7 separate regions of the Homo sapiens genome follow, and regions 1, 2, 4, 5, 6 and 7 are each linked to region 3. Evidence: promoter capture Hi-C in 16 types of primary human blood cells and fetal thymus (Javierre and others, 2016). All regions are on one chromosome and are shown on one strand. Each heading gives the region's core, a stretch centred on a gene start or on the middle of the fragment in contact. The rest is flanking DNA. Distances are from core to core; before and after follow the strand shown. Region 1 has its middle 110 kb from the start of TANK-AS1. Region 2 has its middle 160 kb from the start of TANK-AS1. Region 3 holds the start of LINC02478 (long intergenic non-protein coding RNA 2478). Region 4 has its middle 90 kb from the start of TANK-AS1. Region 5 holds the start of PSMD14-DT (PSMD14 divergent transcript). Region 6 has its middle 200 kb from the start of TANK-AS1. Region 7 has its middle 140 kb from the start of TANK-AS1.

Region 1 (3,048 bases), core at 116-2,615, 780 kb after region 3:
GTTTAACTGAGATTAAAACTTGGTTTCTCCCCTTCTTCTAAGAACATAAAGCCTCAGTGATCTGGCTATTCCCTAACTTTCCAGCTGCAATTCCCACCAATCCCTGTCCACACAAGATACACACCATGAGGTCTGGGTTCTGTGACCTTCTTCATGATGTCTTCGTTGCCTAAAATTGTTCTATCTCCTAACTCCCCCAGCCTAGTTAATCCCAATTCAATCTTTGGAACTCAGTTTAATGTCACCTCATCCAGGAAGCTTCCTTACCTGCCCCTGCTTCACTTAGACTACCTTATCCCCTAAAGATTATGACTTTTTTGAGGGCAGGAATGAGATCTTTTTTGGTTTTGTAACCTTGGGACCTAAAATTGTACCTGGCACGTAGTAGAATCTCAATCAATACCTGTCGAAAGGGAAAGTTTTAAGCATAGTGGTTGTTAAGTAGCTTGTAAGAAAGTCAAAACATGGATGCAAATATTAAATATCAGCATAAGATGTATCACAGGATGGAATAGGTATATTTTTTTTCCTGGAGCTGCTGTACAAACTACCACAAATGTGGTGGCTTAAAACAGAAATGTATTCTCTCACAATTCTGGAGGTCAGAAGTCCAAAACCAAGATGCTGAGAGGACCACACTCTTTCCAAGGGTTCTAGGGTAGATTTCTTTCAATGACTCCTTCCTAGTTTCTAAGGGTGGCTGCCAACCCCAGTGTTGCTTGGTTTGTAGCTTCAGCATTCCAATCTCTATCTCTTTCTTTGCATTGCCTTCTCTTCTGTGTTGTCTGTCTTATAAAGATATATGTGATGGCATTTAGTGCCCATTCAGATAATTCAGGATAAACCCCTCCTCTCAAGATTCTTAACTTAATCACATCTTTTGCAATATAAGGTAATATTTGCTCTTTTACCACATAGGGTAATATTCACAGGTTCCAGCGATTAGGATGTGTACATATGTTTTCAGGACCACCATCCAATACACTGTAGTATGTGTAAGTTAGTAAGGAATCCAGGAAAAGTCATGAGAATTCAGAAGGAAGAAAGCACAATGTGCCAAAGTGACAGCCACATGGTCTTAACACTTTGAAGTGTCAATGTAATTGGTAGTTATCACCATGGCTCCTTTGAAGTAGCCCAGTGATGCCAATTTCCTTGAAGAAGAAAGTGAAGAAAGAAAGGATGTGTGCATATTGCAGAAAGACTAGTGATGAGGCCAAAATTGGGATTTAACTCTCTTCTCTTCAATCCTTGATTTATTGCCTATACTCTTTTACCATCCAAAAGAAAGACAGATAAATGGCAGACACATCACAGAGCTGCCACCTATTATTTAAATGGCAGATTTTCAGCTTCTTCTTTATTCCTGCTGAAGTTCTCATAGCAGAGATGTTAATGCAATACTCTGGACAAAAGAAGTGCAGTATCAAAGCTGGGGGCGTCCCACAGTCAACAAATACTGACTCAGCATCTGCCCTTAGCAAAATATTGTGAGGAATGTGAAGAATAATTAGACATGTATTCATGCTCAAGGAGCTACCATCTCATAGAATACATGTGGTCAGGTAACAAGCAGAAGGCAGTAATTCTCATGGCCCAGATAGAAGACTGTGGGAGTTTAGAGAGAGAGAGACCATTCCTGGCTGCAGTCATCAGGAAAGTCTTCATGGAGCAGATGGCATCAGAACAGGGCATTGAATGGAAAGCACTTTAATAAGTAGAACTGGAGGTGAAGAAGACAGAGGAGTGATCTAGGGCAACTCAAGCAGGATGGAGAATTTTTTTTTTAAGTGTGGAGATGAAAGAATGGAAAGTGTGTTGGGAAATGAGACATTCAGGGTATATGCATAGAACCATGGGAGATAAAAATGAAAAGAAAAATTGTTATATCTGGTTCTTGACTGTCAAGCAAATGATACGGACTTTCTTAACTAGGCATGAAACTGTCATTAAAGATATTTTGAATAAAGAAAAGACATAATCAGATATAATCAGAGTTGTTTGAGAAGATCACTCTGGCAGTGGTGTGAAAGATATATTAGAAGGCAGAAGAGGCTAGATGCTGGAAAATTATTGCAATAGAACAGACGAGAGCTAAATAAAGGTCTTGATTAGGGAGGCCGCCATGTGAAAGGCATGTGAAAAAAGAAGTGAGAGCAATTTCAAAGAAAATTCAATAGGATATAATGGCTTATTGGAGATATGGGATTGAAGACATAGGAGACATCAGAGATGAGTTTGAGACTGAAATATAGTAATGCAAAATAGTGATGACTTTGGAAGAATCTGGAAAGTCAGGAGAATGGACACGTTTAACAGCAAAAATGATTAACCTAGTTTACAAATGTTAAGTTTCAAGAACCAGCAGGATACAGATACTAAGAAGGACATGAACGTAAGAATCATTCCCATGGAGAAAATAATTGAAGTCACAGAAATTTATACCATCACAAAGAAAGGGGAAGAATTCCTAAAGCTTAAGGAATGTCCATCATAATTAATGAATGGTAGAAGAACAGAAGCTAGCCAAGAACATCAAGAGCAAGAAGTGATTTGACCAAAGAAGAAACAGGAATCCAAATGCTGAAGTGAACAGAATTTAAGAGAGAGGAGAACTTCAAGGTGGGGTCACTAATATCAAGTAGTTTAAATTCCAAAAATGTATTATCAAGGGGGAGCTGATTATAATGTTGACACAGTCTTGTACAACATAATCCTAAATGATGAAATCCTGAAAGATCAAAATCCCTAAAGTCCCAGAAATGTAATTTGGGAAAAAAAAATGTTAAAAGTTCTTTAAAAGACATTTCACACTTTAAAAGGGGGGTTTATTTGAGAAACATATCACAACAGAACATTTCATAGGCTACTTCACATAATAATATAGGCAATAATAACATACATATTGTTGCAAGCAAATGCTCTCATATACTGACAACAGTTACACAGGTATAACAGTTATAAGCAAATGATATGCATAAAGAAATAGAATAAAAAAGGAAATGTATAAAAAGGGAAACATATAAACACATGGTAACTTGGTTAGTA
Region 2 (3,268 bases), core at 493-2,992, 730 kb after region 3:
CAAGGGGTCAGGGAGTTCCCTTTCCTGCTCAAGGAAAGGGGTGACAGACGTCACCTGGAAAATTGGGTCACTCCCACCCGAATACTGCGCTTTTCCGACAGGCTTAGGAAAGGGCGCACCAGGAGAATTATATCCCACACCTGGCTCGGAGGGTCCTACACCCACAGAGTCTCACTGATTGCTAGCACAACAGTCTGAGATCAAACTGCAAGGCGGCAGCAAGGCTGGGGGAGGGTCGCCCGCCATTGCCCAGGCTCGCTTAGGTAAACAAAGCAGCCTGGAAGCTTGAACTGGGTGGAGCCCACCACAGCTCAAGGAGGCCTGCCTGCCTCCGTAGGCTCCATCTCTGGGGGCAGGGCACAGACAAACAAAAAGACAGCAGTAACCTCTGCAGACTTAAATGTCCCTGTCTGACAGCTTTGAAGAGAGCAGTGTTTCTCCCAGCACGCAGCTGGAGATCTGAGAACGAGCAGACTGCCTCCTCAAGTGGGTCCCTGACCCCTGACCCCCGAGCAGCCTATCTGGGAGGCACCCCCCAGTACGGGCCGACTGACACCTCACACGGCCGGGTACTCCTCTGAGACAAAACTTCCAGAGGAACGATCAGACAGCAGCATTCGCGGTTCATGAAAATCCGCGGTTCTGCAGACACCGCTACTGATACCCAGGCAAACAGGGTCTGGAGTGGACCTCTAGCAAACTCCAACAGACCTGCAGCTGAGGGTCCTGTCTGTTAAAAGGAAAACTAACAAACAGAAAGGACATCCACACCAAAAACCCATCTGTACATCACCATCATCAAAGACGAAAAGTAGATAAAACCACAAAGATGGGGAAAACACAGAGCAGAAAAACTGGAAACTCTAAAAAGCAGAGCGCTTCTCCTCCTCCAAAGGAATGCAGTTCCTCACCAGCAACAGAAGAAAGCTGGACGGAGAATGATTTTGACTAGTTGAGAGAAGAAGGCTTCAGATGATCAAACAGGAGGAAATTCAAACCAAAGGCAAAGAAGTTGAAAACTTTGAAAAAAATTTAGACGAATGTATAACTAGAATAACCAATAAAGAGAAGTGCTTAAAGGGGCTGATGGAGCTGAAAGCCAAGGCTCGAGAACTACATGAAGAATGCATAAGCCTCAGGAGCCGATGCGATCAACTGGAAGACAGGGTATCCATGATGGAAGATGAAATGAAGCGAGAAGGGAAGTTTAGAGAAAAAAGAATAAAAAGAAATGAACAAAGCCTCCAAGAAATATGGGACTATGTGAAAAGACCAAATCTGCATCTGATTGGTGTATTTGTTTTTTATTTCTCCATCCTGTACCACTCCCATCCATCTAACATCAGTGGAAGGAATAGCATATTGTCTGAATTAGCCTTTTCGAAACTTGTAGGATTTCAAGGTATAAAATCAATGACTGTGAACAATTCTTATAACATCTGAGTGTTTGGAAACTCACTCCTCTCTGCTTCTCTTCTATTTAATTTTGTACAGATGCCATCCAAGATTAAAATCAAAGGGTGCTCTTCACTTTATTTTGGTGGTTCTTCCATGGACTGAAAACTTTCTAGAACCAGAGTTCTCTTAGTTTCTCCTACTCAAGTACACTGATGAATACCCTCCATTTTGTAGGTAGCTAATTCTGAGGGCTAATTTGTGTGAAACACACAGTGCTGTGAGATAGACATGAGTATACTCTCTTTAGTGATAAGGTGACTTGGCTCAGAGAAGTCAGATCACTTTCCCAAGGGCAGACAGCTCATTAATAGCCATCAGAATTCAAACTGTGGCCAACTGAGACAAAGTCCCGTGCTCTTTCCCATCAAGATGGCCCCACGACCTGCCTGTGGCGTGTTGTTCATTAAGTCTTAGAGACATAGGCTGTGTCATTCCCGTTTTAAGGGAGAATCTTACATCAAGAAAGAAAAAGCCAGGAAGTACATATAAAGGTCAGCATCTCCCTGTTCTAAATTAAGGAAAGCTATTCTCATTGATCCTTGGAAGCATGAATGAGAGCTATCCCTGAGTCAGTGAGGACTGGCAATGCCTCTCTTCAGTGATTCTCTCTAAGGTTGTACTCTTCTTCCCAGCCATAAATAAGTTATGAAGGTAAAATTTCTCTACTTACCCGGAGACTTTGTAATAAAGGAAAAAGAAAGAGAATTCAGACAGACACTACATTATCAGAAACAACAAACTGCCCCCTTGTGGAATTACTGTATCGTGGGAGCTCAAGAAAGCCACTCAAATGACAATTTCTATAAACTGTGATTCAGAATTGGGTTTGAAATGTTATGGCTAAGGTAATATTAGCAATATTTTCTCCTTCATATTTTAAGCTGAGTGAGGTTGTTTTGTTTTGTTTTGTTTTGTTTTTGCCTTGTTTGTTTTTTGGCCCATTACTTACACTCTTAGGATGAATGACAATAAAAAGTTCTTTCTTTTGGAAGTTTTGAGATCTTTAATAGAATGTGTAATCTGCCTTTAAAAAATCATGCCAAGGTGATCTGTAGTTATTTTTCCATTAAAAAAATCTAAATTTACTTATAAAAAGCAGCAGCTTGTGGTCAATTAAGTAATTATTCAGCTAATATTCACTTGCCCTTTTTGGAGGAATATTCTTCCCTTCCCCGTTGTTGAGTTTAACCATGTGGTTTGCTATGGCCGGTGTAAGGTGGGTGGAAGCAAGTGTCCCAGTCCCAAGCCTAGGCCTTAAGCAGTGTCATATGTCTCTGCTCACCTCTCTTTTACCCCATCTTTGCCTCAAATAGCTACTGACCCAAGAAGTGCTATGGTAGTTCTGCATCCAATCCACAGTTTTCAGTGAAGCCCAACTAAACACAGTTAGACTAGCGAAGCTCCAGCTGACAAGCAGAGGAATAAATGCTTGCACCACTTAGTTTTGGGGTGGTTTGGAATGCAGCATTACTGTGGCAATAGTTGACTAATACAAAGACTAATAACACAGAGTGAAATTTACATCCTAGTCTACATTGTGTAAACAACACATCTACCTCTCAAGTCTCAGGAAATCATAGATATGTGGTCAGCTTGGTCATGAAGACCACAGTGAAGAATGAGAAGTAAGCAAGACTGGTCCCTGACTTGCCAAAAGAGATACCCTATGGTCTGCACAGGAACACCTGCACACTTGATTCATAGGAGACACTTTCACAAAGAGTCTATTTACCATTATTCTAACAAGCTTTGTTATGTAATTTTGCAGCCACTTTATAGTAGGCAGGGAGAAATTGCTAGAAGCAAACTT
Region 3 (3,469 bases), core at 138-2,637:
CGATTGAGAGGTCGGTGACCTTTGTCCCAATGGCGCTGGCTCTTTTCCTTTTTGGCTACCCTAATGGAATGAGGATATAATCAGTCATATCTTAACATTCATTGAGCCCCGGCTCAGGCTGGGAGGCACTGCCTTTCTCCTAGTGAATTTTAAATCAGTATTTGTGGGATTTAAGCTCCAGCGGATAAACCTAGAGCCACTGGCCATGAAGGGTGTGGCAGTGGGGTGAAAAACGGGACTCCCGCCTCCACTCCCTGGCTTTCCTCATTCCAGCCACTATAGAGGGGAAAATACGTAGACCACAGAGCAACGGCCACACCCTCTTTCCTCTCCTCCAACCCCAGAATTCCACTTCAGTCTCAGAGCTTTCAGCTAGGTGGGGTTTATCCCCAAACATGCCACAACCCCTCTAGTTATATGGGAGCGGTAACTGTGAACCACCATCGCTGGCTTGATCCTCCCTTTTCCGTGGATTGGTGCTCCTGAGTATGTTTACCGGTTTCAGTACATAACACAGCCAGATAGAGGGCCGCGGACTTCAGCGGCGAGAAGCTACAACAAAAATAGGGTGAACAAAAACGAAGGTGCCCAGGAGCCTGAATTGCATTTCTTTCTTACCTTTGGTCATAGAAAGGAGCACTTAGGTGTTTGGCTGGAACGCAAAGTGAGACCAGAGCTTACATTCTTAGCAGCCTGGGTTTGTCTCGAGAGGCCATGCTTCTCTCCTCCCTGACATTTTGCTCTCAGAAGCACCAGTTAGCATCAGAGGAATGTTGTTTCCTTCTCTGAAACAGCCATCAAGTACCAGCGATTTCTTGGCTCCGGCAAGTTAAGTGCTCTGACCCCTCCCTTATCTAACTCACCCCGCACACCATCCACATGGCAGGGGACGCAGCCAGAAATGGAGCGGACTGCATCTTTTCCTTGCCCACTCTTTTTATCACCATGACAGAGCCACTGGACACCAGGAAATAAATACTGAACCACCACACTAAAACGTTTACTCCACTTTGGGCAGAAGGAGCCTATTTTGCATATTAAGTGCCTCCTATAAAGCAGTCAAGTGAGGGAAAGAGGAGTTCTCGCTCCTCCGTGAATGCTGCACGGGAGCCTCCAGTCGGGAACAGCTGAACAGGTAGCTCTGAAAGAGGACCTTGGTCATAAACGCATAGATAAGATTATCCCGAGGTTCTCGCCCACATGCTTCCTTACCACAGGTGGGAGGGCTGCTGTTAGGCTGTCTTCCTTGCTGAGCATTGACAAGCAATGAAATAGTTGAGGCGTAGCAGCAAGAAAGGAGGAAGAAAAAGGGCCTGGTTTTTTGGTCTTTAAGAACAGACCACTAGTGGTGTATTTTGGGCTGGATATTTGCTGAGCCGACCGTTGACGTGCTGAGCTGACGGTTGACGTGCTGAGCTGAGGGTTGACGTCTCTGGTCATTACACAGATTTAAATAACCAGCAAAAGTGGGGTGGAAAGGTTTTTCCAATTGTTTTCAAGGAAATGTATTTTGAGGATATATTGAATCTGACATAACTTTCAACTCACTTTCAAACCAATCTACTGAGCTGAAGAAAGAGATCAGAAATGAAATGAAATTCTGATATACACTTAATCGACTTAAAAAAAATTGACAGGAAAAATAAAATTTCAGATGTTTTTTATTCAAAGGTTCTCAAAAGAAATAAAACAGAAAAGCTAACAATCTGATCAAATGTACAGTTCAAAAATGTCTTTTGGCGTTTAACAACAAGTCCTAGGAAAGAAAACTACAGAGTTATCTTGAACCGGACAAATAAGTTACCACTGGCAAGTCTGTGGCACTAGTAAAACAAAAATAAAAAATTAACTCTCTTGATCATATAGATATCTCTATGAAAATCTTTTTTTTTCAATCTGTACAAAAGGTCTTTCTTCATAAATTAATTTTTTTATAATTTAATGGCTGTCTACTATGTGATGTTTAACTGATTTTTTTTTTTTTATGTACAGAGGTTATGTTTCCCAAATCTTACCCAGACGAGTATGGCACTTAGTTCAGACATTTCTAGCAGCAGATTTCCCCTCCCCTCTAACCGAGCTATCAAATTTCTGTCTTAACTAATGCAAAAATATCAAGTAGTGAGAGACCCAGGTTTATAACTGTACTAGGTACACAGAGGGTGCTGCGTTCAGTCTGGACTTTCACAAAGCAGTAATATTCCAGGGAGCATAGAACCAATAATACCACAACTTTAAAAAAATGAAACAAAAACAAAAACAAAAACACATTTCTCTTATGACTATGTAATTTTCACTAGAATCTACACTTCTCAGAGCAGCAAGGACTTTTGAAACTATGAAATGTCACTGACATCTATCATCAAATACAAGCATAAAATTTAAGAACTAAAAAATACTTGAAAGAAATAACTGCTTAGCCCTAGCTCCTGAGCTAGGAGGATTTGGTCTGTGGAAACAGGGAGGGCCAGCAACCTGTCCCAGCACAAAAGAAAATAGACTCTGAGGTAGATAACTGATCATACACAGCTGACCAGACAAGTACACAGTTTTGGAAGACAACTTAATTTACCATTGCTTTTAAAACATATGCAATTGCCTTAATAAAAGAGCTTTAATAACAGTGAATTATCTTATATGTACTAAAGTAGAAATAACTGTGTATTTATGAATCAGGAATTTCATAGTTTCAAAATTGGTTTTCTTTACACTTGAACACTTGTAGTGATGATGTAAAGTGTGGCACTGCTTGGATCCAAATCTTCCTTCATGCTTTTTTGTTTGTGTGTGTCCATACATCAATTAAAATTATAAAACCTAAATGCAAAGGTACAAAAAAGGCACATTCTCCTAACCGCAAACTGGTCCGGCAAAAATAAAGAGCACAGAAGATGTGATGCTGAGACAAGTTGGAGCTACTGGTTACTGGCTCTTCGGTCTTTGGTGAAGTTACCTTTAAAAGTGCCAAGTCATTTTTATTTTTCAAATTTACCTAATAGAGAGAGAGAGAGAGAGCTAGTAGCCAATCGTTTTGCTTCTATTCGTTATCTCAGCTTATGTTTGAAGATAAATCCTTACTTTTAGCTTTTGCCACTTTGTTGCAATAGCAACATTTTTCGGTTTGCCAGATTTCAGGCATAATTCTCATTCTAAAGCACTATCATTAGTATAAAGGAAGGACAAAACATTCAGTGACTCCCCTCCCCCACCCCCATCCCCAACCCCAACACTACCTACACTAAATCTAGTACATCAAGTTAGCTTTTTTTTTTTCCTGAAAAAAGGCAAAAAAGACTTTACATTGCATCATACAGCAGATATCCTAAATCAGTCAAACTATCAGAGGAAACTGTTGGCGTACAGCCTTACAAACAATTTACCCTAATAAAAGTTCCCCAGTCAGAAAATGTGTTTCACACAAAACATTTTTCCCTTCTTGCATTTCACTACCTTACACATTATGTGAAAA
Region 4 (3,306 bases), core at 273-2,772, 800 kb after region 3:
TTATATGGTTAATAAACAAGTCTTTTAAGAATGACAATAAAATGGTTTTCAAGATATGTACTTTCTAAACAGCTGCCATTTTACCCGTAGTATTTCAGTCCCTTGAGGTCTGAAATGATGACTCATTTGACTGTGTTAGCCCAAAGTTGTACAATTAAGGGAACAAATATTTCACAAATACTTCACCTTGGTTAAAAAAAAAGTCTTTAATTTTATTGTCACAGTATAAAATTTAATTTATGCTAATGACATTTCTATAACAAAATCTGCCTTTGATCTAGCCATTCCAAATCTAGGATTATGTCTACTGTAAAGTCACATATATATAGAAATAAATGTAAGAATATAATTTTCAGGATTGTCTACATAGAAAAAGATTTGAAACAACATAAATATCTATTGATAGGGACCTGGGTAAATAAATTATAATAGATTAAAATAATAGAATATATGTTGTTGTTAGGTGAATAAAGCAGCTTTGTATATAGTGACATGAAACAATCTCCAAGACATACTGTTAAATGAAAAACATAAAGTATAAGAGCAAACAAATAACCAAACCAAACACACACACACACTTGAAAATTATAGCGGCCAGGCACAGTGGCTCATGTATGTAATCCCAGCACTTTGGGAGGTCGAGGTGGGTGGATCACTTGAGGTCAGGAGTTCAAGACCATCTTGGCCAACATGGCGAAACCCCGTCTCTACTAAAAATACAAAAATTAGCCAGGCATGGTTGGGTGCACCTGTAGTCCCAGCTACTCCAGGGGCTGAGGCAGGAGAACTTCTTGAACCCGGGAGGCGGAAGTTGCAGTGAACAAAGATTGCGCCACTGCACTCTAGCCTAGGTGACAGAGTGAGACTCTGTCTCAAAAACAACAACAACAGCAAAAAAAAAAAAAAAAAAAACAAAAAAACAAAAAACAAAAAAACAGAAAAGAAAAGAAAATTATAGCAACATTGACTATCTTTGGAAGGAAACACAATAAATTGATAACAGTGGTTATATCTGAAGGGGAAATTTGAGGATTAGGGGACAGGGATAGGAAAAAATACCTGTTTTTCACTGAAAAACTATTTTGTAACTTTAGCCATTTGTATTATGTATACATATTACCTACCCAAAATATTTTAAGATGTGAATTATAATAATGCATTAAATTTGGGAGGAAAGAAAAAAATGCGATGTATTATGGGCGTAATATAACATAATATTCTAAAAGTACTTCAAAATTTCCAGACTGTTACTTGGTTAACTCTAAATCAGTATTTAACAATATAAATCACAATTTAATGTCTAATTATCATGATGAAAACAGCTTTTAAATGTTGAATGTGTATATCTGTATTCAAATACAAGCTGTTTTGACTTTTAACCAACATACCAGAACTGGGAGTGATTTTATTGCATAATTAGAAAACAAACTGCAATATATTTTAAGATGTTTTTAAAGATAATGGGAAGCATTTTTAAATGTTCAAGAGAAATGATGTTTTAATTCCTGTACATTTATAAGAATGGAAATTCTATTTGTGTTGGGCACCAGAGAATGTATAGTTCAGTATGTACCTTGTCATTTTGTGCTGCAAGCATCCCAAACCTGATATTCCTGGGGCCTATTTCCTAAAATGGACAAGAATCGATTATGTGACTGCTCCAGGGCTTGCAACTGAGGAACAATATATGGTGCATAGCCCTATAAATCCTCACCCTGGTGGTCAGGACCTATTCTGGGAAATAATTTGAAGCAGATAACTTACTTTCAGACATCCCTTCTCCCCTTCTTCAGAGGAGATTCTAGTCTTTCAAAAATAACTTTTCCATCCTCAAGAACTCTGCATCAGCCAGCTCCCCAAAACCATCAGATGAACAGACTAAATTATGCTATACTTAATGTTTATATGCATTTTAAAAGAGAACAAAATTATGCCTAGAATTCACATAAGGAGTAAATTCTGACAAAGAAATAACAGGCTTCAGTAGGAAATATTGTGGAGAGTGGATGAGGGAGATTGACACTGAGGCAGACTGAGACCAACAATCACACCACATCAGCCTGCTGGCCTTCTTGGGCAATGCTGGATTCACTTTAGAAACCCACATTACTGCTTTGTGCAAGCAGTAATGGCATGCCAGTCATTAGTAATGCTTACCATATACTTCTAGTTCTCCCCTTTCTGGACCATGATAGGGTTCTATTTCCTGGCTCCTTTGTCAGGTGGGGCCACATGACTATCTCAGCCAGTGTTTGGGGAAATGGGTGGTGTACGACACTTCTGAGCCAGAGCATTTACTTACTCTAGGCCAGGGTGAGAGCCTGCAGAGCTATCTTTCCTCTGCCATGAAGACCAGCAAGAGTCCATAGCAGGTGCTCTGTTGAGAGCATCCTGGAGGAGGAAATAAACCTATGTGAGCAAGAAATAAATCTTTGTTTTTTTTAAGTTATTAACACTTGGGGGTTATTTGTTGCCACAATATAAACCAGCCTCTCCTTACTGATACATATGGGAGATACAGTATACATGCACAAGTGACTAAGAACAGCCTTCAGGGTTACAAAGGTAGTAATGACTGCTAAGTTATCACAACTGTAAGTTTGACCTTAATTTTATAAAAACATTTTCCACTTGCTCATTAAGGCCTTTTCCCAAGTACAAATTTTGAGTACCTGCCTGGAAGGTGGTAAATTACACAATTTGGAGACTGAGGAAATGAGACGCAATGTCTCTCTTTCTTTCTCTTTCTCCCTCCCTCCCTCTTACAGTTTGATGAGGAATTATCAATAAGAAAAAAAACCCTGAAAAGTGGATATCTAAACAACTTAGCACAAGATATTTTATTAAACTGCTATATAGAAAACAGTCTATTCATGAGAAAAGTTTATATAATTCCAAGACACTTTAAATTCCTCAGTTTGTCACATTGACGCTACAGAGGAGGTCACATAGTAAATTGTTATAGTCGGAGAAAATCTCAGAAAAACCGAACTTGATTCTTAGAATATCACCATCCCATATTTCAATAGCACTTTCGAATTTGAAGAGTACTTTCTTGAATATCACCTTTCCCAGGCTCATTGTTTATCTGGCATGTGGCTCCTCTTCATGTGTATATACCCATACAACAACACTCTACATTTTCTGGGACAAGTTCTCTTACCTCCATACTACTGGAATGAAAACTGAAGTTCAGTAAGTCCAAGTGATTAACTAACCCAAGACCTTATGATCAATAAGTGAAAAGGTCAAGATTCACAATCAGATTTTCTTACTAAGTTCAGGGAATTCACTCACTGTTCCACG
Region 5 (3,427 bases), core at 260-2,759, 980 kb after region 3:
AAGGTGTTTATGTAAAATTGCCATAGTAACACTATGCCATACATTTTACAAGGATCTTTCTAAGCTAAACTTTATCATATTTTGTTATTGACTTTTTCACTTTTAAATTGTCAATTTCTCAAGTGTTTTCATTAACATTTCTACCTTTACTTGTAGAAAATCTTCCTCATGGCCGGGCGCGGTGGCTCATGCCTGTGATCCCAGCACTTTGGGAAGCTGGGGTGGGTGGATCACGAGGTCAGGAGTTCGAGACCAGCCTGGCCAGCATGGTGAAACCCCGTCTCTAATAAAAAATACAAAAATTAGCCAGGCATGGTGGCACATGCCTATAGTCTCAGCTACTTAGGAGGCTGAGGCAGGAGAATCACTTGAACCCAGGAGGCGGAGGCCTGGGCGACAGAGTGAGACTCCATCTCTGAAGAAAAAAAGGAAAATCTTCCTCACAAAAGGTTAGATAAATATTCACTTTTATTATTTTTTATTGACTTCTTTATTTTTTTATTCAGACAGGATCTTGCTCTATCGCCCAGGCTGCAGTGCAGTGGGACGATCATGGCTCACTGGAGCCTCAACCTCTTGGGCTCAAGTGATCCTCCAGCCTCAGCCTTCAGAGGAGCTGGGACTACAGGCACGCATGACCACCTGCTAAAATATTCACTTTTGTTTTCTCCTACATATTTGATGATTTTTTTTTGTTTTCATTTTATGCATTTAGTGCTTTAATATGTCTGCAATTTATTTTGGTTTATCATGTGAGGAGAGGATTGGATTCTTGTTTTTCAGCTTGTCCCTGCAAGTTTATTGAATAATATAGTTTTTTCCTACTGATTTTAAGATTTTTGAATTTAGCTGAAAGGTTTTATCTTCTAGAGACCTCTCTTGAGATTAATTTCCACTCCACTGATTTCTCTATTTTTCTACCTTTATCACAATATTTAAATAATACAGTCTTATATCTAGTATTGCAAGTCCTTCAGTAGTTTTCCTTTCCAAAATTTTCTTTGTCATTCTTGACTATTCGTTCATATTATTCTGAATTACATTATTAAGTTAAAAAAAGATTCACTTAAGAACATATGTTTTGCTGTGAAAAAATACTCAAGATATATTAAGTGAAGAAAGCAAATTGTACAACAATATATATATTAGCCTTCTTAAAATTAAAAAAGTCAGAAAAAGCATAGAAGTGTGTGTGCAGGCCCATGTGTATGTGAGGCTGTTCCTTATTGATACATATAAACATTCTGGAAGATTGGCCAAAAAAAGTATTAACAATGGTTAGCTTTGGTTAATGGGAATGGACATTGTGGAGAAGAGGAAATTTTGCTCTTTACTATAAAGAAACTTCTTAGGTAGTTTGGATTTTCTACTATGAACAAGCATTAGTCATAAAATTTTGGTAAATGTCTTTGAAAAAAATATTTGAAAAAGATTATTAAAAAGCTACTTACACACAAAAGGACAAATACTGCATAATTCCACTCATCTGAGGTACCTAGAGTAGTCAGATTCATAGAGGCATCAAGTAGAATGGTGGTTGCCAGGAGCTGAGGGAAGGGGACAATGGGGGTTGTTGTTAAAGGTGTACAGGGGAGTCTCAGTTTTGCAAGATGCAAACAGTCTGGAGATGGATGGTGGTGATAGTTGCACAACAATGTGAATGTACCTAATGCTACTGAACTGTACACTTAAAAATGTTTAAAACAATATGTTTTATTTACCACAATTGTTTTTTTTGACGCAGAGTCTCGCTCTGTCACCCAGGCTGGAGTGCAGTGGCGCAATCTCGGCTCACTGCAACCTCTGCCTCCTGGGTTCAAGCGATTCTCCTGCCTCAGCCTCCTGAGTAGCTGGGATTACATGCACACGCCACCATGCCCGGCTGATTTTTTTATTTTTAGTAGAGACGGGGTTTCACCATGTTGGTCAGGCTCGTCTCTAACTCCTGACCTCGTGATCTGCCCGCCTCGACCTCCCAAAGTGCTGGGATTACAAGCGTGAGCCACCTTGCCTGGCCCTACCACAATTTTTTTAAAGCTATTTACAATGATTTACCCCTGGGGAGTTGGATTGAGGAGTTAGGATGTAGGCCAAGGACAATATTTTTCATTTAACACCTTCTGCATGGCCTGAATTTTTCAGGAGAAGCCCATATTATTTTCATAATAAAAAAATTTTAGGACTCTCTCTAGACCTATTCTGATTCAGAGGCTGCCCAATTAAAAGAAATTTAATGTCATAGCTAATTTTAAAAATTTATTGGAAATCCTACGCTGAATTACATTAAATTTATAAATGATGGGACAGCTTTAAAATATTTACTCACATAGAAAGTTTTCAAAAATTTTAATGATCCTTTGAAAATTTTGTAATTTCTTCATATGGGTCCTACACAAGTTCTGTAGTTTATTAGTGTATCCCTGGGTTTTTTATATCTGTATCTCTATCTACAGATTGATAGATATATATAATATTATATCAATTGCCTAATTGCTATTTTTTGTAAAATTAATTTGTCTCATTGAAGACTTTTTTGTAATTATTTTTTCCTCTAAATAACTGAAGGAAACTGTTGATTTTCATAATTTTCTTTACTTTAATCTTAAAAATAATCCTAAAGTAATTGGTCCATTCAAGTTGGTCAGTTCAAGTTCAAGCTAAAATTATTGGTTTGTGTAGAAATACTCTAATTTAGCCAATGTAACTGTTTTTTATTTATGTGATTTTTTTTGAATCATGTAAACATGGCTTAAGAAAATATCTATTATAAAGAATACTCTATAATATAAATGCCTGCAGAGTATAATACCTGTCACTCTCTGAAAAGGAATGCAAAGGAGTAATGAAGGAAAAATAATTATTAGTACGATAGGATTTCCATGAATAATTTATGAGAACCTAGACAAGGAGTAAACAATAGATATCACCCATTTTGAGTCCTATAGACTTTTTCCATATTTGCAGAAGATATTGCTTGTATTTTTTTCATTTCTAAAAGGAAAGTGTTTTGCTTTTATTTCTGACTATATATTATCATTGTAGAAAGCATTCAATACTATAGACAAAAAGTATTTTCTTATATGAAGATCAACCATAAACCTATCATCCAGATAAAACTACCATAAATAGTATTTTGCCTATTCATCAAGAATTAATTACATTAACATATATTTCACATATTTATAAAAGTGATCACACTGTACATACAGTTTTATAGCCTCCTTTTTTTCTCTTAATATATAATCACTGCTGTCTTTTAATGTCCATACAGATCTTCATAATTCTTAATGGCTATTGTTGAAACGTACATTTTATTTTATGGATGTTCCATAATTTATTTGATCAATCCCCTGTTGATTAACATTTAGGTAGTTTCAACTTTTTTTACTTTGAATATTGTAATACATCTTTTCACATTTGACAAGAT
Region 6 (3,518 bases), core at 630-3,129, 690 kb after region 3:
GGAGACTCTGCTGTGTTCTTCCACAGAGGTGGCGCAGCTGAATCACCAGGGCTTGGCCCAGAAATGTGACTGGGATTCCAAGCACAGCCTCTTTCAGGAAAGGGACACAGAGGCAAGCAGAAATGTTCGTGCTCCTTCAGATAATTCATTCCTGGCTCCATTCACCCTGCCCCTGCTCCACCCCCTGGCTCCCAAGTCAAGGCAAGATTTCTTGTCAGGGTCTTTCGCAGCCAAATCATATATATGACTTAAAGAGGTTTGTTGGCCCTGGCAGTTCCTGGAATCTTTCCAGAAATATAGCCAGAGGGCCAGAGTGGTGCTGCCAGTCATCCTCTTGGGATCCAAGCTCTGAGAGAGCCAGGAGATGGCTTTCCAGAGCTCCACCCTGCCAGCTCTGATTCACATCTGTGTTCTCCTCTCTGGGGAAACTCGCAGGGTGGAGTCCAGAGGAGGGAAGGAAATCTTTGGGTCTGCTCTTTATCCATTGTCCCATCATTCTGGCGACTGTCAGTCTTTATTTTTTTAAACGTTAAACATATAAACAGCATTGCTTCATTTTTCTTTATAGGCGATAATGCTCCATTATGAAGAAAAAAAACTTGTTTCTTGCTTCCAATGGAAACGAGATGTTTACTTTTTACTTCAAACTGAGAGATTTCAGAATATGCTAAGTGAGTTCTGCCTTTCTGACTTAAGTTATCCTGTTTTTCATTTTCCTATTTTCCCACTGACAGAGAGTGCAATTATTGCTACCCTTTTTGACTAGCTAGCTGACTCTTTCTCCTAAAAACGTGAATTATAACTAGAAAAGGCTACTTGGCGGGCCTGTCTATGGTGAGCTCTTGCCTGTGAGAGTTAACTAGAATGCTCCTAGTAATATTTCGTTGTAATTTTTCTGTTGTCGTGTTCTCAGAAGCCCCAATCCATCAGTCTATTCAATTGCCTCCACTGGACAACACAGCAAAATTCATTCCAGGAGACTTCCTTTTTAATAGTTTTCACTTTGACCCATCTTATTTCTGTGAGTTATGCTGAAATGTACACATATATACAACTCACTGTTGATTCCCAGCAGCCAGAATGTCGCAGAGGTGCCACCACCATATACATTTATGCATGTAAATGTATATATACATATAGACCTGGTAAGGTTCATGCACTCAATTATCCGGCATCGTTGATGTCAGGAACTCAGAATTGCTTTGAGGAATTCAGAATTCTATTTTTAGACTTTTTCATAAATGGAAACATAAGTGACAGTCATGCTGTAGAATACAAGATGTTGTCCTTATATTAACTAGGAGAACAACATGGATGCTAATATATATAGTTCACTGTAGTTTGGTATTATTGATATTCCTTTCCTTTTCTGTGTTCAGCTTCTTCACCAAATTAAAATGCTTTGCAAAGTGTGGCTTGTTTATCATCTTCTTTCTCAATCATTTAGAATGTGGGTGTGCATGTTCCTGTTTCCTATTTACTAAATTCAAACATAGAAATTTAAACATGCTTAGAGGCTAAGACAGAGGATAATACCTCCTGGTGTTCCTAACACATTATCTCTCTCAAAACCATTTTATTACCAAATAACACTCAGAGCTTTGTGGAACAGAAAGTATGCTTCTTTATAGAGACAATAAGTCCTAGAACTCAAGCAAGTTGTTCCATGGTCATTGATAACAAGTATAACTCAAAAGTCCCATTACTGTCATATGGTTTTTTTCCATAAACAAACTGATAGAAAACTAGCAAACTTGACTGAAAAATGTAAATTCTTGGGAGAATAATTTTTCATGTAAAAACCTACCGCTAATACCTGTTCCACACTGTCCTTAATGCTAAGAAGGAATAAGATGTTCCTCTATATATCTTCATTCTAAATAATTCATAGTTCTTGATACACACATGGACCAAGATCTAACTTTTTTTATTAAATACACAGTGTTCTCAAAGCAGGTTGTTGGCTTTTGAGGCCATGAAAGTTTTGGGAAGATTTTATCTGTGACACCTGCATGCTATACTTAGCCATATGGCAGTGTACCAATGCCAGCGAAGATGTTTGGGAAAGTAATCGCACCACAGGTGACCCAAGCTCTGTCCTATGTAACTCAATTCTGCTGGACCACTAGTGTGAAGAGAATGGATGATGCCAGAATTCTGAAAAAAGTATAGAATCTCTAGATTAGAAGAGACCTTAAATTTCACCCAATCCCCACCACACTGATGCAAGCATCCTTGAAAAGCATTTTAAAGTAAGACAATATCACAAACTCAGGAAGCATAATAGCAGACAAACCACCACCATCTATAAATAAAATGTTTTAGGTACACCAAAGAGAATGTGCTTGAAACTCAGAAAAGTCATGCTATAAAGGTTTTGCTCCTCTTTGAAATTTGAGAGGTAATAGTTCCTCCAATGCTTTCCAATACTTCTGCAATTCAAGGGCAAGCATTACAGATTTCCGACTGCTTCTTTCCCACTCCCTTATTCAGCAATATTTATATAATGCCTACCATGTGAAAACTAATCTCTCAAAGTTAGGATTAACACTTATGGCCACCACAAAAGTGATTTTTGTTCCCATAAGAACTTCCATTCAAACTTTTAAAAAATCATGTCCCTCATAGGTGGCCATAGATCATAAGCACTCCAACTTTTAAGAAAAAAAAATTCCATAATAACAAATACTAAAGGAGAATCTCATGAAGAATGACAAAAAATTTTAGACATTTTTAATAACTCACTAGTTACTGTTACTAGAATAAATAGGCACTAAAATGTAATAAATATCAGAGCCCTAAAATAAAATACCAGGGTATTGTTCAGTATGAGTAAAGAGAGGTGAGAATAAAGAGAATGGGGTAATGAAATCATGTGAACATGTCAAAGAAGGTGCTGAAGAAAGTTTAAATTATCAACCAGTAGGAAGGTTATGAAAGGTCAAAGGGCAGAGAAAGGGAATTTCGTGAAAAGGTTTTCTGGAGCAAGATGAAAATTCCCATGATCCTCCCTGTCTCCAGTAGAAGGAGTTGCTGCCACTTCTCTCAGAAGTATGTGTCCCCTGAATTTGGAAGGCTTGGTCATCAGGAACTAGACTCAACTGATAAATTGCAAGCAGTCCATGGGAGCATAGAGATGGCTGCAGCTGGGATGTAAATGCAATTCACTCCCACATTGGGTCAAAAAGGCATGTCTCAGGGACCAGATGTACAGTCCATGGTAGAAATGCCAGGCAAGGAGCATTCGAAATAGGAATCTGTCTAAGAGAGCAGCCTGCCAAGGTGAAAGGACCATAGGAATAAGGGATTGATACTAGAACATCAGGGGGCATCACGAGTGGTCCCAGCAAGTATATGTACCCTGAGTCTTAGACCCTTATCATTAATTTCCATAACTCTAACTTCCAGGCATTAGATCAAAGCCCATTGTGTCAGGTGGGCATAGTTGTTGGTGTTTACTCTCTGAAGTGCCTCGCCTCCAGAGGCTATGTATGGAATGTAGCAGTAATGAGATAACT
Region 7 (3,173 bases), core at 503-3,002, 750 kb after region 3:
GTGGAAAAAGGAAAAAACCACACTGTGTGTTGGGAACAAAGTGAAATAGAAAACATATGTCCATGGTTAATAATATACCAAAAAAGCATTATATACAACTGAAAAGAAAAGATAATATATGCCTTAGTATTTGTCTTTAAATGAATATTTGATTCCCCCAGGGTGTCATTATCATTCAGTCAGTGAAAAGAAAGCACTTCTGAGAATGATCTCCTCTTCCTTCAGATGTGTGAGAATCTGAATGGTTTATTTCTACAGAGTGCTATGTATTGATTACACTACATTGAATATTATGTGACGCAGTAAAGCTGTTACATGCCTTCTGATTTCTTTGCGTTCTGTGTGGTGCTTCAACAAATTCTAATTTTTCAGATTGTGATGAAGCAATGCCTTAAATTGAATTATATAGCTGGTCTATAATTGAATATTAGGTTCCAATCCAGAAAGAAGCAGTCCAAAAAGACTGTGGTAAATACCAATTCTGTGAGTGACCACATCCTCATCCTATGGATGGAATACTTTTTAAAAAATAGGGATATTCTTCTTCTGGGTTGAAATCCCACCATACTAACACCTTCTAATAACAAAGGGCTAATATCCAGAATCTACAAAGAACTTAAACAAATTTACAAGAAAACAAACAACCCCATAAAAAACTGGTCGAAGGATATGAACAGACACTTTTCAAAAGAAGATATTTATGCAGCCAACAAACATGAAAAAAAGGTCATCATCACCAGTCATTAGAGAAATGTAAATCAAAACCACAATGAGATACCATCAATGAGAGAGCATCAGTGAAAACAATTTTAGAGATACAGGACTCCCTCAGGAGCATCTGGAAGTACTGATTCAGTTACGGAGAATGCGAGTTCCATAAGAGTGAACACCATGTTCTCATTGTTCATCATTTCACCTCCACGGCCTAACATAATTGTATATGAGAGTTACTCAATAATTATCATTGAGTAAATGAAAGAAAAACTTCAAATGTCAGAAGAACAAATCAGAGCAGATCGTTGGCTCTGATGGTCCTGGAAGAGCAGGGGGTAAGGCAGCCAAGGTGCTGCTGAGCTGGGCCCCACACAGCCATCCAGTGGTAAGCTGGAGTTGGCTCTTGTTGACTCTCAGGAGTCAAAAATGTACATCTTTTCCCAGCTCTGCATTCAGTCACTTTAAGCTGGTAGCTTGAAATTGGCCATCGCGGGACTATTTACACCATAGAAATCGGCAAACACCATAAATCAGACTTTTTTTTAGAGATCCAGTTTATTTGTTTTTTTAAGAGAGCTACACCACTAGCATAGCTACCAAACTTGTTTTACCCAGAATTTAACACCAGGAAGTCCTCAAAATCCTAACCAAAACAGGGAGGAGAAGGAGAGAGCTGGGCCGGAGAGGATGATGATGGGGTATTCCATCCTCCTTACAAGATAGTGAAAGAGCTTCTGATTTATGATTGGAAAAGTTAGGCTAATCTGAGAAGGTATATCAATACCTCCAAGAATTCTATTTTTGTTTTTTCTTTCCAGCTCATGGGAACTCATAATTTCAAATGTTGAATTGGGACCCTAGATCCCCTTCTGGCCTAAATTCAATGACACTCATTAATTGAACATACACTTACTGAGTGCACACCATGCACTAGGGATAAAAAAAAAACTATGATAGATCAGTTTCAAATTCCCCCCACCCTTCCCTGTATCTACCTCTTTTGTAAAGTAACATTTTAGCTTCCCCATTAAGGAATAAAGTTTATTTTCTCAACCCTTGAATCTAAGCTGGTCTTGCAATTTGCTTTGACCAACTAAATGGAGGGGAATACGGATGCCAATTCTGAACATACATCTCAAGAGGCCTTGCTGTTGTAACCTCTGCCTCTGCCTTGAAAATAAGCCAGTGTCCCCTATGGAGAATGAGAGAGTATGTGGAATAGAGCCAAGTCATCCAAGTCAAAGTCACCCTAGATCTTCCAACCGCCAATCAATGCCACAGCTAACTGCAAATGCATGAATGAGCCCACTTGAGATCATTGAACCTCACCCAGATCAACAGAACTGAGTCTAGCCAACTGTGCAGATTCTTGTAAAATAACAAATGGCTAAGGTTTATTTAAGAAACTTACTAAGGCCAGGCACAGTGCCTCACACCTATAATCCACCACTTTGAAAGGCCGAGCCAGGTAGATCACTTGAGCCCAGGAATTAGAGACCAGCCTGGGCAACATGGTGAAACCCAGCCTCTACAACAAAATACAAAAATTAGCCAGGTGTGGTGGCACACACCGGTAGTCCCAGCTACTCTGGAGGCTAAGGTGGGAGGATCACTTGAGCTGGGGAGGCAGAGATTCCAGTGAACCAAGATCATGCCACTGCACTTCATTTTGGGCAACAGAGAGAGACTCTGTCTCAAAAAAAAGAAAAAAAGAAAAAAAGGAAATTTACTGATGTAAAATGAACCATTTTAAAGTGAACATTTCAGTGGCATTTAGTACATTCACAATGTTGTGTGAGCATCATCTCTATTGAGCTCCAAAATATTTTATGCCAAAAAGAAACACTCCACTAAGCAAATTTCTCTCCATTTCCCAATCCCTTTAGCCTCTGGCAAACACCAATCTGTGTTCTGTCTCTACAGATTTATCTATTTTAGATATTTCATACAAATGGAAAAATAAAATAGATGACCTTTTGTATCTGGCTTCTTTCATTAGCATAACGTTTCTGAGGTTCATCCATATTGTAGCATGTATGAGTCCTTCATTCCTCTTTGTGGCTTAATAATGTGTATATACACAGGCATACTTCATTCCTCTTTGTGGCTTAATAATGTGTGTATATATATATATATATATATATATATATATATATATATATAGGCATACTTCATTCCTCTTTGTGGTTTAATAATGTGTATATATACAGGCACACTTCATTTTCTTGTGCTTCACATTATTACACTTTGCAGATGCTGCATTTTTTTCAAATTGAAGGTTTGTGGCAACCCTACATCAAGAAGTCTATTGGCACTGTTTTTTCCAACAGTGTGTGCCCACTTTGTGTCTCTGTGTCACATTTTGGTAATTCTCACAATATTTCAAACTTTTTTTTCTTTTTCTCTCTTTTTTTTTTTTTTTTTGGAGACAGAGTCTTACTCTGTCACTCAGGCTGGAG

What was found. Contacts are between HindIII fragments. The CHiCAGO score rates a contact against its expected background, and 5 or more counts as called.
Region 1: a contact is called between a fragment that was not itself captured here and the fragment with the promoter of LINC02478 in region 3, in 6 of 17 cell types (fetal thymus, naive CD4 T cells, naive B cells and 3 more). The highest score is 7.2, in fetal thymus.
Region 2: a fragment that was not itself captured here is called in contact with the fragment with the promoter of LINC02478 in region 3 in 6 of 17 cell types (naive CD4 T cells, activated CD4 T cells, non-activated CD4 T cells and 3 more); the score reaches 7.2 in naive CD4 T cells.
Region 4: a contact is called between a fragment that was not itself captured here and the fragment with the promoter of LINC02478 in region 3, in 4 of 17 cell types (M1 macrophages, naive CD4 T cells, total CD4 T cells and 1 more). The highest score is 6.4, in M1 macrophages.
Region 5: a contact is called between the fragment with the promoter of PSMD14-DT here and the fragment with the promoter of LINC02478 in region 3, in 4 of 17 cell types (neutrophils, activated CD4 T cells, monocytes and 1 more). The highest score is 12.7, in neutrophils.
Region 6: a fragment that was not itself captured here is called in contact with the fragment with the promoter of LINC02478 in region 3 in 10 of 17 cell types (total CD4 T cells, naive CD8 T cells, naive CD4 T cells and 7 more); the score reaches 13.2 in total CD4 T cells.
Region 7: a fragment that was not itself captured here is called in contact with the fragment with the promoter of LINC02478 in region 3 in 7 of 17 cell types (total CD4 T cells, naive B cells, total B cells and 4 more); the score reaches 8.9 in total CD4 T cells.

Annotation. Positions count from the first base shown.
Region 1 is chr2:161,050,946-161,053,993 of GRCh38, forward strand. No RefSeq gene overlaps it. Among named protein-coding and RNA genes, the nearest start is that of TANK-AS1, 110 kb to the right of the region's middle. The HindIII fragment of the contact is 2,218 bases long and covers 257-2,474 here.
Region 2 is chr2:161,002,370-161,005,637 of GRCh38, forward strand. No RefSeq gene overlaps it. Among named protein-coding and RNA genes, the nearest start is that of TANK-AS1, 160 kb to the right of the region's middle. The HindIII fragment of the contact is 2,921 bases long and covers 283-3,203 here.
Region 3 is chr2:160,270,508-160,273,976 of GRCh38, forward strand. It overlaps LINC02478 (long intergenic non-protein coding RNA 2478), which reads right to left and starts at 1,388. Exons shown (of 2, transcript NR_103775.1): 1 at 1,213-1,388. RBMS1 (RNA binding motif single stranded interacting protein 1) reads right to left here. Exons shown (of 14, transcript NM_016836.4): 14 at 1,644-3,469. RefSeq lists an enhancer at 1-205. The HindIII fragment of the contact is 15,786 bases long and covers 1-3,469 here.
Region 4 is chr2:161,068,760-161,072,065 of GRCh38, forward strand. No RefSeq gene overlaps it. Among named protein-coding and RNA genes, the nearest start is that of TANK-AS1, 90 kb to the right of the region's middle. The HindIII fragment of the contact is 3,681 bases long and covers 1-3,306 here.
Region 5 is chr2:161,253,134-161,256,560 of GRCh38, forward strand. It overlaps PSMD14-DT (PSMD14 divergent transcript), which reads right to left and starts at 1,510. Exons shown (of 4, transcript NR_110593.1): 1 at 1,452-1,510. The HindIII fragment of the contact is 9,629 bases long and covers 1-3,427 here.
Region 6 is chr2:160,956,331-160,959,848 of GRCh38, forward strand. No RefSeq gene overlaps it. Among named protein-coding and RNA genes, the nearest start is that of TANK-AS1, 200 kb to the right of the region's middle. The HindIII fragment of the contact is 4,861 bases long and covers 1-3,518 here.
Region 7 is chr2:161,018,663-161,021,835 of GRCh38, forward strand. No RefSeq gene overlaps it. Among named protein-coding and RNA genes, the nearest start is that of TANK-AS1, 140 kb to the right of the region's middle. The HindIII fragment of the contact is 3,986 bases long and covers 1-3,173 here.